2 separate regions of the Homo sapiens genome follow, and region 1 is linked to region 2. Evidence: promoter capture Hi-C in 16 types of primary human blood cells and fetal thymus (Javierre and others, 2016). All regions are on one chromosome and are shown on one strand. Each heading gives the region's core, a stretch centred on a gene start or on the middle of the fragment in contact. The rest is flanking DNA. Distances are from core to core; before and after follow the strand shown.

Evidence for each region. Contacts are between HindIII fragments. The CHiCAGO score rates a contact against its expected background, and 5 or more counts as called.
Region 1: a fragment that was not itself captured here is called in contact with the fragment with the promoter of KAT5 in region 2 in 1 of 17 cell types (activated CD4 T cells); the score reaches 5.4 in activated CD4 T cells.

Annotation. Positions count from the first base shown.
Region 1 is chr11:66,134,008-66,140,394 of GRCh38, forward strand. All of the region lies in intron 1 of PACS1 (phosphofurin acidic cluster sorting protein 1), which reads left to right. Among named protein-coding and RNA genes, the nearest start is that of PACS1, 67 kb to the left of the region's middle. RefSeq lists silencers at 1,849-1,898, 4,903-5,062. The HindIII fragment of the contact is 212 bases long and covers 1,252-1,463 here.
Region 2 is chr11:65,708,373-65,714,332 of GRCh38, forward strand. KAT5 (lysine acetyltransferase 5) reads left to right here and starts at 3,880. Exons shown (of 13, transcript NM_182710.3): 1 at 3,880-4,073; 2 at 4,394-4,462; 3 at 4,550-4,686; 4 at 4,976-5,131; 5 at 5,221-5,295; 6 at 5,402-5,476. The coding sequence starts at 3,896. RefSeq lists enhancers at 3,436-3,555, 3,586-3,895 and silencers at 3,926-4,115, 4,126-4,205. The HindIII fragment of the contact is 6,423 bases long and covers 1-4,435 here.

The DNA.
Region 1 (6,387 bases), core at 108-2,607, 420 kb after region 2:
TTTCTTAAAGATATGAGAACCTAGCTCTAACATAAGCATGAAATGCCTATTCCTGAGGCATTGATCACATTGTCATTGTTCCAGGTTCCTCTCTGTGCTCCCTGAAATCCCCATTAGCGTAATTCCCCACCATCCCCTTGTGCGGAGTCCACTGCCCCACTGTGCTGCTGCCCTCGACTGTTGTGAGGCCGGCTGAGTTTCAGTAACAGGGACTCGGTGATTAAATTTCTTTTTCTTTTTCTTTTTCTTTTTTTTTTTTTTTTTTTTTTTTTGAGACGGAGTCTCGCTCTGTCCCCCAAGCTGGAGTGCAGTGGAGCAATCTCGCTCGGCTCACTGCAACCTCTGCCTCCCAGGTTCAAGTGATTCTTGTGCCTCAGCCTCCCTAGTAGCTGGGACCTACAGGTGCCTGCCACTACACCTGGCTAGGTGATGAAATTTCTTCAGCTTTCTCTGGCCCTCCCTACTTCTAGGATCCAAATGACACGCTACGTATCGTTGCCATTTCTGATTTGGATGTACAAATATAGGGACAGATGGGTTTGTGTTTGTTTTTGATGTATTTTTTTTTCTCTCTTAATCTGGCTGTAAAAGCATTTCCAATGGCTTATAGTTTAGTATGTGTTCCCAAAGTGGGAGCAGCCTGTACATATGGAAGTCCAGTTGGGTAGGGCTCCCTGTACCCTGGCGCCAGGGCGTTGTTCTGACCGATGGTGCCCCCTGATGGCCAGTGTAGAAACTTGGTCACGGTGTCATCTTTTTCTCACTATCACTGGGGATTCCCTTCACTCCCCAGCAATTACTCACTTTTATTCTGTCTTGAATCTTAGATAATTATGCCGGAGATAATCCTTCTTATCTCCTCTTTGGGTTTCTTGTTTCTTCCTTATTTATTGCTCTCTTACCTCAAAAATATCTTATTTCAGCCAAGTGCAGTGGCTCACGCCTGTAATCCCAGCATTTTGGGAGGCTGAGGTAGGTGGATCACCTGAGGTCAGGAGTTCGAGACCAGCCTGGCCATCATGGTGAAACCCTGTCTCTACTAAAAATACAAAAATTAGCCAGGTGTGGTGCTACTCCAGCTACTTGGGAGTCTGAGGCAGGAGGATGGCTTGAACCCGGGATGTGGAGGTTGCAGTGAGCTGAGGTCACATCGCTGCACTCCAGCCTGGGCAATAGAGATAGACTCCATCTCAAAAAAAAAAATCTTATTTCTTCTCACCACTCATTCTTTTCATTATATTTTGAACTAAAAGCTTGTCCTGGTAATGGCTAAAGAGTACTTAGTGGTGTGTCCATATCAAAAAGAAAGGAAGCCCTTGATTTTGAAGAGAAATTAGAAGCCACGCTAAGGACTCATGGTTGCCATCTTCACGAGCTCTGAGATAGGTAAGGCACGCCCTTCAGAATCTTTATGGGTTTTTGTTAGCTCCTCAGCTTTCTCCAACTAAAATTGCTTTGGCTTAAGCTTTAGAACTCAAGATAAATGAAAGTTCTTCATTTTAACTTTAGTTGATAAATTACTAGTATTACAGAGCGATTTTCTGTGTGGAAAACATGCCAGCACTGTCACCCAGACACACTGTGCACAGGTTCAGCATGTACCATGGCTGCCTGAGGCCTGCCCTCATCCCTGCTGGCCTCCTCTCCTGCGCTTTTTTTTTTTTTTTGAGACAGAGCCTTGCTCTGTCACCCAGGCTAGAGTGCAGTGGTGCAATCTCAACTCAGTGCAACCTCCACCTCCTGGGTTCAAGCAATTCTTCTGTCTCAGCCTCCCGAGTAGCTGGGATTACAGGTGCCTACCACCATGCCTGGCTAATTTTTGTATTTTTAGTAGAGACGGGGTTTCACCATGTTGGCCAGGCTGGTCTCGAACTCCTGACCTCAAGTGATCCACCCCACTTGGCCTCCCAAAGTGCTGGGATTACAGGCGTGAGCCACTACACCCAGCCTCCTGCGCTCCTCTTAACGTGGTTTCAGATTCTGCCCACGTGCCTTCCAGACTAGCTTCTGAAACACTGTCCACCTGTCAGTTGAATTATTGAGCTACTGATTTGTCTGTGACTTTTAGCTCATAATTGGACTGTCGTAAATGACGTAGATACGTAAGTACGTCCTACGGGTTATGTGGCTATGCTGCTGAGACCTCACACTCAACCCTCCAGCACTAATTCACTCTCTTTCAAAATTGTGCTGTTGCTTTCAGTGTTTGGGGAGCCCAGGAGAGGAATGTGAAACAGGACTGCCCAATCCCGCTAACACACACACACACACACACACACGCCAAGAATGTGAAACAGGACTGCCCAATCCCACTGTCACACACACACACACACACACACACACACACCAAAAACCAAAACAAACCAAAATATTCCTGAGTGCAGGAGTTATGATTTAACAAAACCTTCATATCCTCTAACATCCCCACTCCAGAGAACACCCTACTTAGAATAAAAAGCTAGGAGTGATGAGCACCATGGCTTTCAGTCTTTATGGAGCTGTGATAGCCCATCATTATTTGATTTATTCTCCTATCTTTTCCAGAGCGGATGTAGTCTTTGAATAGAATTGCATAATTTTAGGGTTTTAAGCACCCTCAGTAATCGTGCAGTTTAGTTTCCCATCTCATGCCTTCCAAAAAACTTCATACAAGTTGACCCTCATCTAGCCTTGGCCCGAGTGCTTCCACTGAACAAGAATTCAGCAGTTTTTTAAGCAGGCCCATTCCATTGTATGGACTGCCCGAATTATTAATAAGTTCTCTATGTTCGGCTAAAACTTAACTCATGGGAATTTCCACCCTAAGTCCTGATTTAACCATTTGTAGAAATGAATGACTCAGTTTTTTCACTCCCACAGAAGTGGTCTTCAGCTATTGGAGGACAGTGCCCGGCCTCCGTAGGCTCTCCAGCCTCAGCATTGCCCACTTTTCTCTTGGCTTGTTGGGCTTTTTTCTTCTTGATTTTTGGGGATTTTTGAAAATAGCCCTATGTCTTGGATATGAGTCACAAATTGCCCCCCCCCCCACCATTTCGTCATTTGTCTCCAAGCTCTGTTTACATTGGTGTTTGCCGTGCAGAAGTTTTTCTTTAATGTAATAAAATGTAGCCATCTTTTTTAAAATGACCTCTGGACTTCATGTGTTTGGAGTTTATTCATACTTAGAAAGGCCTTGTCCACTTGAGGCTGTTTAAAAAATACCCATATTTTCTGCTAGTACTTAAATGGATTTGTGTGAGTGTGTGTGTTTGTGTTTGTGTGTGTGTGTGTGTACTTAAATCTTTTATGCATCTAGAATTTATTTTAAGATAAGATGTGAGGTAGGGGTTCAAATTAATTTTTTTCCAGCTAGCTGTCTAGTTACTCCAACATTATTGAATTACTCATTTTTTCCTGTTTTGAAATGCCATTATATTAAATTCATGACACACTTTTGGATTTATTCCTAGAGTGTTTCATATGTTTTATTTCCAAGCAAACCACCACACACATCTTATACCTTCATTACTGAAATTTTTAACCTAAATGTAAAACTTGTTATGTGCTTACCTGGCATCCAGCCGGTCAGGATGGTCTGACTCTGCTCCTTCCTGCCTCAGCAGCCTCCTCTTTTGTGCCACCTGCAGGTTAATAAGCATCTCTTATGTCATTATCCAGGCCATTGACCAAGGGGTGACAATAATATTGGCCATTGTAGGGCTGTCCTTTGGACTCCAGTGGAGAGCCATTACTCACTGTTTCCTATTTTAGAAATGCAGCATGATAGGTTAAAAAGTGCTTAGGGTTTTGGTTTCAGTTGCAGAACTAAATTTGAGCATCCCTTCTATTCATTGTTTCTCAGACTTTAATGTGAACAGGAATAACCTGAGAATCTTGTTAAAATGCAAATTCTTTTTTTATTTTTAGTAGAGACGGGGTTTCACCATGTTGGCCAGGCTGGTCTTGAACTCCTGACCTCAGGTGATCCACCTGCCTTGGGCTTCTAGAATGCTGGTATTACAGACATGAGCCACAGCACCCAGCATAAAATGCAAATTCTGATTCAGTAGGTCTGGGGTAGGCCAAGATTTTGCCCCGTTTATTTATTTATTTATTTATTTATTGGACAGTATCACACTCTGTCACTCAGGCTAGAGTGCAGTGGCCTGATCATGGCTCACTGCAGCCTCAAACTCATGGACTGAAGTGATGCTCCTGCCTCAGCCTTCTTAGTAGATAGGACTGTAGACTTCTGCCACCATGCCCAGGTAATTAAAAAAAATTTTTTTACAGAGATGGGAGTCTTGCCATATTACCTGGGCTGGTATTGAAATCCTGTCCCCAAGCAACCACCCAAAGTGGGATTACAGGGTGAGCTATGGTGCCCAGACGGCTTTTGCATTTTTAATAAGTCCCCAGGCCATGCTGATGCTGATGGTCCATGGACTACCCTATACTTTGCAGGACCAAGACTAGAGTGAGTCAAGTGACATGCCCCACGAAGTGTGTGAGGAGGCACTTACTGTCTTGGCACTTGCACAAACCTGAGAGCAAGCACTTCTTTAAGTTTTGTACCCTGGGTCCCTTGCTTGCCTCACCCTAATCCCAGCCCTGATATTGTGTTTCTTATTATTGTTAGGCTTACTGCTGATGAAGCTACTAAATAGGACTCTTGAGAGGTGAGCTCTTGCTGTCTGCACTTTTTTTTTTTTTCGAGACAAAGTCTTGCTCTGTCGCCCAAGCTGGAGTGCAGTGGCGCGATCTTGGCTCACTGCAACCTCCGCCTCCCGGGTTCAAGTGATTCTCCTGCCTCAGCCTCCCGAGTAGCTGGGACTACAGACATGCGCCACCACGCCCAGCTAATTTTTGTATTTTTAGTAGAGACAGGGTTTCACCATGTTGGCCAGGATGGTCTCGATATCTTGACCTCATGATCCGCCCGCCTCAGCCTCCCAAAGTGCTGGGATTACAGGTGTGAGCCACTGTGCCTGGCCGCTGTCTGTATTTTTAAACAGGTTCCCCAGGCGACCCTTAGGCACACCAAAGTTTGAGAACCACTGAAAAAGAGAAGTTCTGACTTTTAGGATTAATTTACAGCCTGTTATGAAACCAGTGCTTGCAACCTGAAAACATCATGCTACTGTTTACCTTTAGTTTTCATGATGTGCTTGAGATAGTGGTGGCTAAGCCCGAAATATATAAATTTTTAATTTTCATGTTTGTGGGTACATAGTGGGTGTATATATTTATGGGTTGCATTTGTTTTGATACAGGCAGGCAATGCATAATAATCACATGAGGGTAAGTGGGGTGTCCAACTCAAGCATTTATCCTTTGTGTTACAGACAATCCAGTTATACTTTTTAGTTACTTTAAAATGTATAATTAAATTATTTTGTACTATAGTCACCCTGTTGTGCTAGCAAATATTAGGTCTTATTCATGCTTTGTAACTTTTTTTTTTAATCCATTAGCCCTCCCCACTTCCCTCCCATCCACCCCCCTAACCCCACCACTACCCTTCCCAGCCTGTGGTAACCATCCTTCTACTCTTTGTCTCCATGAGTTTAATTGTATTAATTTTTAGCTCTCACAAGTAAGTGAGAACATGTGAAGTTTGTCTTGCTGTGCCTGGCTTATTTTATTTAACATAATGATCTAGTTCCATCCATGTTTCATCCATCCATCCAAAGGATCACATTCTTTTTTGTGGCCAAATAGTACTCCATTGTATATATATGTACTGCATTTATTTATCCATTCATCTGTTGATAGACACTTGCTTTCAAATCTTGCCTACTGTGAATAGTGCTGCAGTAAACATGGGAATGCAGAGACCTCTTTTCTATACTGATTTCCTTTATTTGGGGTATATACCTAGCAATGGGATTGCTGGATTGTAAGGTAGCTCTGTTTTTATTTTTGGAGGAACCTCCAAACTGTTCTCCATAGTGGTTGTAAAGTTGCAAATATTGACAGTAGTTACTCAAGTGGTGCCAAACTACAGGAGAAGGCCTACTTGTATTTGGCAAAACCAACCTTTACCCACGTACTGAATCTGATAACGTGGCTTTTGCTCAAAATCCAACTCTGATGTGGTAAAAACCTTAATTGAAAGTGGACCATAGCTCAGTGCTTCTCAAACTCTAATGCGGGTAAGAATGTTCTGGGTGTCTCGTTAAAATGCAGATTCTGATTCAGCTGGCCTGGGGTGGGACCTATAAGTCTGCATTTCTGACAAGCTTTTAGAGGGTGCTGAAGCTTTAGCTCTACAGCTGTGCTTGCAAACCGAGGAGATTTTTGACTGAGCTCTAGTTCGGAACTTTTTCCTAACATATGAGAGTTTTGGTTAGGAATGTTTGGAGAAGTTATTCATGGATTTTACTTCAGCAGACAGGGAAAGATGCT
Region 2 (5,960 bases), core at 2,630-5,129:
CCCAAGTGCATCATCTCTAGGTGTTACCATGATTGTCCCTATGATAAAGCAACCCATGTGTCTCCGTGAATTCTGCAAACTCTGCTGAAAATGGCAAAATGGAGTTGGGGTCCTCTGTGCTGGTGACATTTAGAATGGAAAGCAAGTGCTATTTTGAAGATGACTCAGTCTGAGGAGGCGCTAGTTTTCTCAAGCAAACACTTTTGTAACACCCTTCCAGCCAAAACTCTGAGCTAACGTAGAAGGGTGAGTCCTGTCTTTCTCTTTGCTATCCACTTTGCATGTGGCCCAGCAGGGATGGTGACATTGCTGAGGGTGGACAATCTATACCTGTCCTCTTCTCTCCCAAACTCCAAAAATGTAAGCGCCCTAAGGGCAAGAGGTCTTTATTTATTTTGAGACAGGGTCTGTCTGTCACTCAGGGTGGAGTGCAGTGGTCGGCTCACTGCAGCCTGGAACTCCTAGGCTCAAGCGATCCTCCCTCCTCTGCCTCCTGAGTAGCTGGGAACACAAGCGAGGGCCACCGCCACGCCTGGCTAATTAAAAAAAAAAAATTTTGTAGAGACAGAGTCTCGCTCTGTTGCCGAGGCTGGTCTGTAACTCCTGGGCTCAAGCGATCCTCCCACCTCAGCCTCCCAGTGTTTGGATCACAGCCGTGAGCCACTGGACCAAAAAAAAAAGAAACCTAATATACAAAACAATGGCAGGGTGCGGTGGCCCTAGCACTTTGGGAGGCTGAGGCAGGCGGATTGCAGGCAGGAGTTTGAGGCCAGCCTGAGCAACATCTTTTTCTTTTCTTTCTTTATTTTATTTTATTTATTTTTTGAGATGGAGTCTCTGTCTGTTGCCCAGGCTGGAGTGCACTGGCACAATCTTGGCTCACTGCAACCTCTGCCTCCTGGGTTCAAGCGATTCTCCCGCCTCAGCCTCCTGAATAGCTAGGACTACAGGCAGATGCCACCACGCCCAGCTAATTTTTGTATTTTTAGTAGAGATGTGGTTTCACTATATTGGCCAGGCTGGTCTCGAACTCCTGCCTTGACCTCCCAAAGTGCTGGGATTACAGGAGCGAGCCACTGCGCACGGCCTCTTTTTTTTCCTTCTGAGACACAGTCTTGTTCTGTTGCCCAGGCTGGAGTGCAGTGGCACGATCTTGGCTGACTGAGTAGCTGGGATTACAGGCGGATGCCACCGTGCCCAGCTAACTTTTGTATTTTTAGTAGAGACGGTGTTTTACCATGTTGGCCAGGCTGGTCTTGAACGCCTGACCTCAAGTTGTCCGCCTGCCTCGGTGTCAGAGTTGCATGAACCAGAGCAACTCTATCTTGAATAGAAGCTGGGTAAAATGAGGCCGAGACCTACTAGGCTGCATTCCCAGACGGTTAAGACATTCTAAGTCACAAGATAAGATAGGTCGGTACAAGATACAGGTCATAAAGACCTTGCTGATAAAACAGGTTGCAGTAAGAAAGCCAACTAAAACCCACCAAAACCAAGACGGCCACCAGAGTGACCTCTGGTTGTCCTCACTGCTGCACTCCTACCAGTGCCATGGCAACGGCAGGAAGTTACCGAATATGGTCTAAAAAGGGGAGGCATGAATAATCCGCCCCTTGCTTAGCAGATCATCAAGAAATAACCAGAAAAATGGGCAACCAGCATTGAGTTCCTTTACTTTCCTAACAAACTTGCTTTCACTTTATGGCCTCGCCCTCAATTCTTTTTTTTTTTTTTTGAGACGGAGTCTTGTTCTGTTCCCAGGCTGGAGTGCAGTGGCCTGATCTTGGCTCACTGCAACCTCCGCCTCCTGGGTTCAAGCAATTCTCCAGCCTCAGCCTCCCGAGTAGCTGGGATTACAGGCGCGCACCACCACGCCTGCCTAATTTTTGTATTTTTAGTAGAGATGGGGTTTCATCATGTTGGTCAGGCTGGTCTCGAACTCCTGACCTCAGGTTATCCACCTGCCTGGCCTCCCAAAGTGCTGGACTCGCCCTGAATTCTTTATTGCACGAGATCCAAGAACCCTCTCTTGGGGTCTGGATGGGGACCCCTTTCCTGTAACACTGGGATTATAGGCGTAAGCCACCATGTTCAGCCACCTTTGAGGCAGGAAAATAGGGTCTGGAGGCAGGGAACATATAAGGCTGATTCACACTTCAGTTATGACAGGAAATATCCTCTCCTTAGGGAGTACACCCTAAATGACTTTGTAACTTTACTTCATCCTCTTCATTTACATATGGCATATCCCAAATAACCAATGGAATCCTCCAAAGGGTATTTAAACTCCAACAAATTCTGTAACTGGGCCCTTGAGCACCTATGCTCAGCCGGCCCCAACACTGGAGTGTACTTTCATTTTCAATAAATCGTTCATTCCTTCCTTGCTTTGTGCATTTTGTCCAATTCTTTTTTTTTTTCTTTTTCTTTGAGACAGAGTCTTGCTCTGTCTGGAGTGCAGTGGCGCAATCTCGGCTCACTGCAAGCTCTGCCTCCCGGGTTCACGCCACTCTCCTGCCTCTGCCTCCCGAGTAGCTGGGACTACAGGCGCCTGCCACCACGCCCAGCTAATTTTTTGTATTTATTTTTAGTAGAGACAGGGTTTCACCGTGTTGGCCAGGATGGTCTCAATCTCCTGACCTCGTGATCCGCCCGCCTCGGCCTCCCAAAGTGCTGGGATTATAGGCGTGAGCCACCGCGCCCAGCCGTTTTGTCCCATTATTTTAGATGCCAAGAACCTGTACACCCTCCACCGGTGACACCTTCACAGTTTTGAGGAGTATTCATGGGGTATTTTGTAAAATGTTTCTCAATTGGGATTTGTCTGATGTTTTTCTCATGATTAGACTGGAGGCAGCTGGGATTACAGGTGTGAGCCACCATGCCCAGTCTCCAAACCCTGTTTACACAAAAATTTTAAAAAACTAGCCAGGCTTGGTGGTGCGCGCCTGTAGTCCCAGCTACTAGAGAGCCTGAGGTGGATCACTTGATCCCGGGAGGGGGAGGCTGCAGTGAGCGGAGATTGTGCCTCGCTGGCTGCACTCCAGCCCGGGCGAGAGAGCCAGACCTTGTCTCAAAAAAAAAAAAAAAAAAAAAAAAAGCCTAATATGGCTGAGGGCGGTGGCTCACGCCTGTAATCCCAGTACTTTGTGAGGCCGAGGCGGGCGGATCACGAGGTCAAGAGCTCTAGACCATCCTGGCCAACATGGTGAAACCCCGCCCGTACTAAAAATACAAAAATTAGTTGGGTACTCGGGAGGCTGAGGCAGGAGAATCGCTTGAACCCGGGAGGCGGGGGTTACAGGGAGCTGAGATCGCGCCACTGCACTCCAGCCTGGCGACAGAGCGAGACTCCGTCTCAAAAATAAATATATACAAATTAAAAAAGCCTAATATACAAAATAAAGCTAGGAATCTTCCCTGAGTCCTCTTGCCTACGGAATGAAGTCCACAGACTTGGGGGAGCGTTCGAACCCTTCTAAGGCCACTTCCTTTCTCCAGCCTCTCGCGCCCAGTTGACTCCCGGCAACACCTCCCGCCGCCACAAGGAGACGCCCGAGGACTTCCCTCCGACAAAGCCAAAAACGGTATTGCCACGTGACCCGCTCCGCATACACGTGACCAGCTTCGCACCCGGTGGGCGTCACGTGACGGACTCAGTAGACCGCCACTGGCTGTGCACGTTATGGGGTTTCCACCTAGGGCTCGGCCTGAGGCTTGTAACACTCCGTTTTCCCCCGAGTCACAGGGGCAGTCTTGCCCCTCGCAGCTGGGTCGCGGTGTCTCTCAAAGGTCCCCCTCTACAGGGGCTTCGTGAGGCCCGGGCCCACAGGGCGCTCGGTCCCGGAAGTGACGTCTCCCAGAGGGGCCGGAAGTGGCAGTGGAGGGAGGGAAGATGGCGGAGGTGGTGAGTCCGGTGCCCGGGGCGGGGCGGAGGGAGCCAGGGGAGGTGGGTAGAGCCCGAGGCCCCCCAGTAGCCGACCCTGGCGTCGCGCTGTCTCCCCAGGGGGAGATAATCGAGGGCTGCCGCCTACCCGTGCTGCGGCGGAACCAGGACAACGAAGATGAGTGGCGTGAGTGACGTTGGGGGGCGGGACTAAGGAACCTGAGGGCGAGGGGCGGGAGTCAACTGAAATCCCGGGATGGGGAGGGGCGTCTGGAATTATGGGGCGGGCGAGGCGCAGATACTTTGATGAAGGGGCGTGGCTCTTAGCTGCTCCGAGAGGTACAGGGCGGGGCCTGGAAAGGGGTGGCACTTGTGACTGAAGGAGGCTTAGGAGAGACCTAAGTGCTGGAGCTTAGGGATCCGGCCTGGGGGTGGAGTTCAGGTCGTGGAAGGGTGGAGTCTCATAGCCTGGCCTGTCTAAGGCCCCTGTCTATGCTATTCTCATAGCCCTGGCCGAGATCCTGAGCGTGAAGGACATCAGTGGCCGGAAGCTTTTCTACGTCCATTACATTGACTGTGAGTTCTGGGCCTGAGGTGGGGCATCAGGGTAGGGTTGGGGGACAGTCTTTGGCATTCTGTCCTGAGCCATCCCCACTGCTACAGTCAACAAACGTCTGGATGAATGGGTGACGCATGAGCGGCTGGACCTAAAGAAGATCCAGTTCCCCAAGAAAGAGGCCAAGACCCCCACTAAGAACGGACTTCCTGGGTCCCGTCCTGGCTCTCCAGAGAGAGAGGTGGTGAGTAGGTCCCCCACTTCACCTTTTCTCTCCTGCCTCCTATTTCTCTTGTCTGTTGGCATTAGGAGCTCCTGGATGGGCAGGAGGCGGCTCCCTCTCACCCTGACTTCATCTTGCAAAGGATGGGGGCCAAATTGCACATGTAGCTCCCAGAGTCCAGTAGCTAGTCCTGTGTCCTTCAGAAGGCGAGGGTGGGGTTTGATAATTTTGAGGTGAGGGACCCCTCTTCCCCTTCCCCATCCCACTGCCATCCCCGCCCCAAAGGAAGACCCTGGACCTATCTCTACAGCCGGCCTCGGCGCAGGCCAGCGGGAAGACCTTGCCAATCCCGGTCCAGATCACACTCCGCTTCAACCTGCCCAAGGAGCGGGAGGCCATTCCCGGTGGCGAGCCTGACCAGCCGCTCTCCTCCAGCTCCTGCCTGCAGCCCAACCACCGCTCAACGGTACCCTCAGCAATTCCAGGGACCTTGCTTTCTTCTCAGGTCCCACCTTCTCTACCTTCTGACCCACCTTTGTTGGTTTCTCTCTGCAGAAACGGAAGGTGGAGGTGGTTTCACCAGCAACTCCAGTGCCCAGCGAGACAGCCCCGGCCTCGGTTTTTCCCCAGGTGAGTTCCCCAAACCATCTCTTGTTCTCTTCCTCTCTTCTACTCTCTGGTGGCTTTTTTCAGGCTCATTTCACAGCCATCCCTTCTTTTCCTACTATCTCGGCAGAATGGAGCCGCCCGTAGGGCAGTGGCAGCCCAGCCAGGACGGAAGCGAAAATCGAATTGTTTGGGCACTGATGAGGTGGGTCTGGGGAGCAGCAGAAGGGAACTGGGTGAAAAGGAAGGGATGCAGGCAGGGTGGAGAGTTATTTAGTGATGAGTTTAAAAATAAAGAAGGGGTGGTGGGCAGAGCTAGTGTTGGTGGGATTAGGAGACAGGCAGAACATTGTTCAAATGAGTCATTGGGGCCGGGCACCATGGCTCATACCTGTAATCCCAGCACTTTGGGAGTCCAACCAAGGCTGGTGGATCACCTGAGGTCAGGAGTTTGAGACCAGCCTGGCCAACATGGTGAAACCTTGTTTCTACTAGAAATACAAAAATTAGCCAGGCGTGGTGGCGGGTGCCTGTAATCCAGCTCGGAAAGCTGAGGCAGGAGAACTGCTTGAACCCCGGAGGTGGAGATTGCAGTGAGCCAAGATCGCGCTACTGCCCTCCAGCCTGGGCGACAGACTGAGACTCCATCTAAAAAATGGGGTCATTGGGTGATCTTTTCCACATCATCG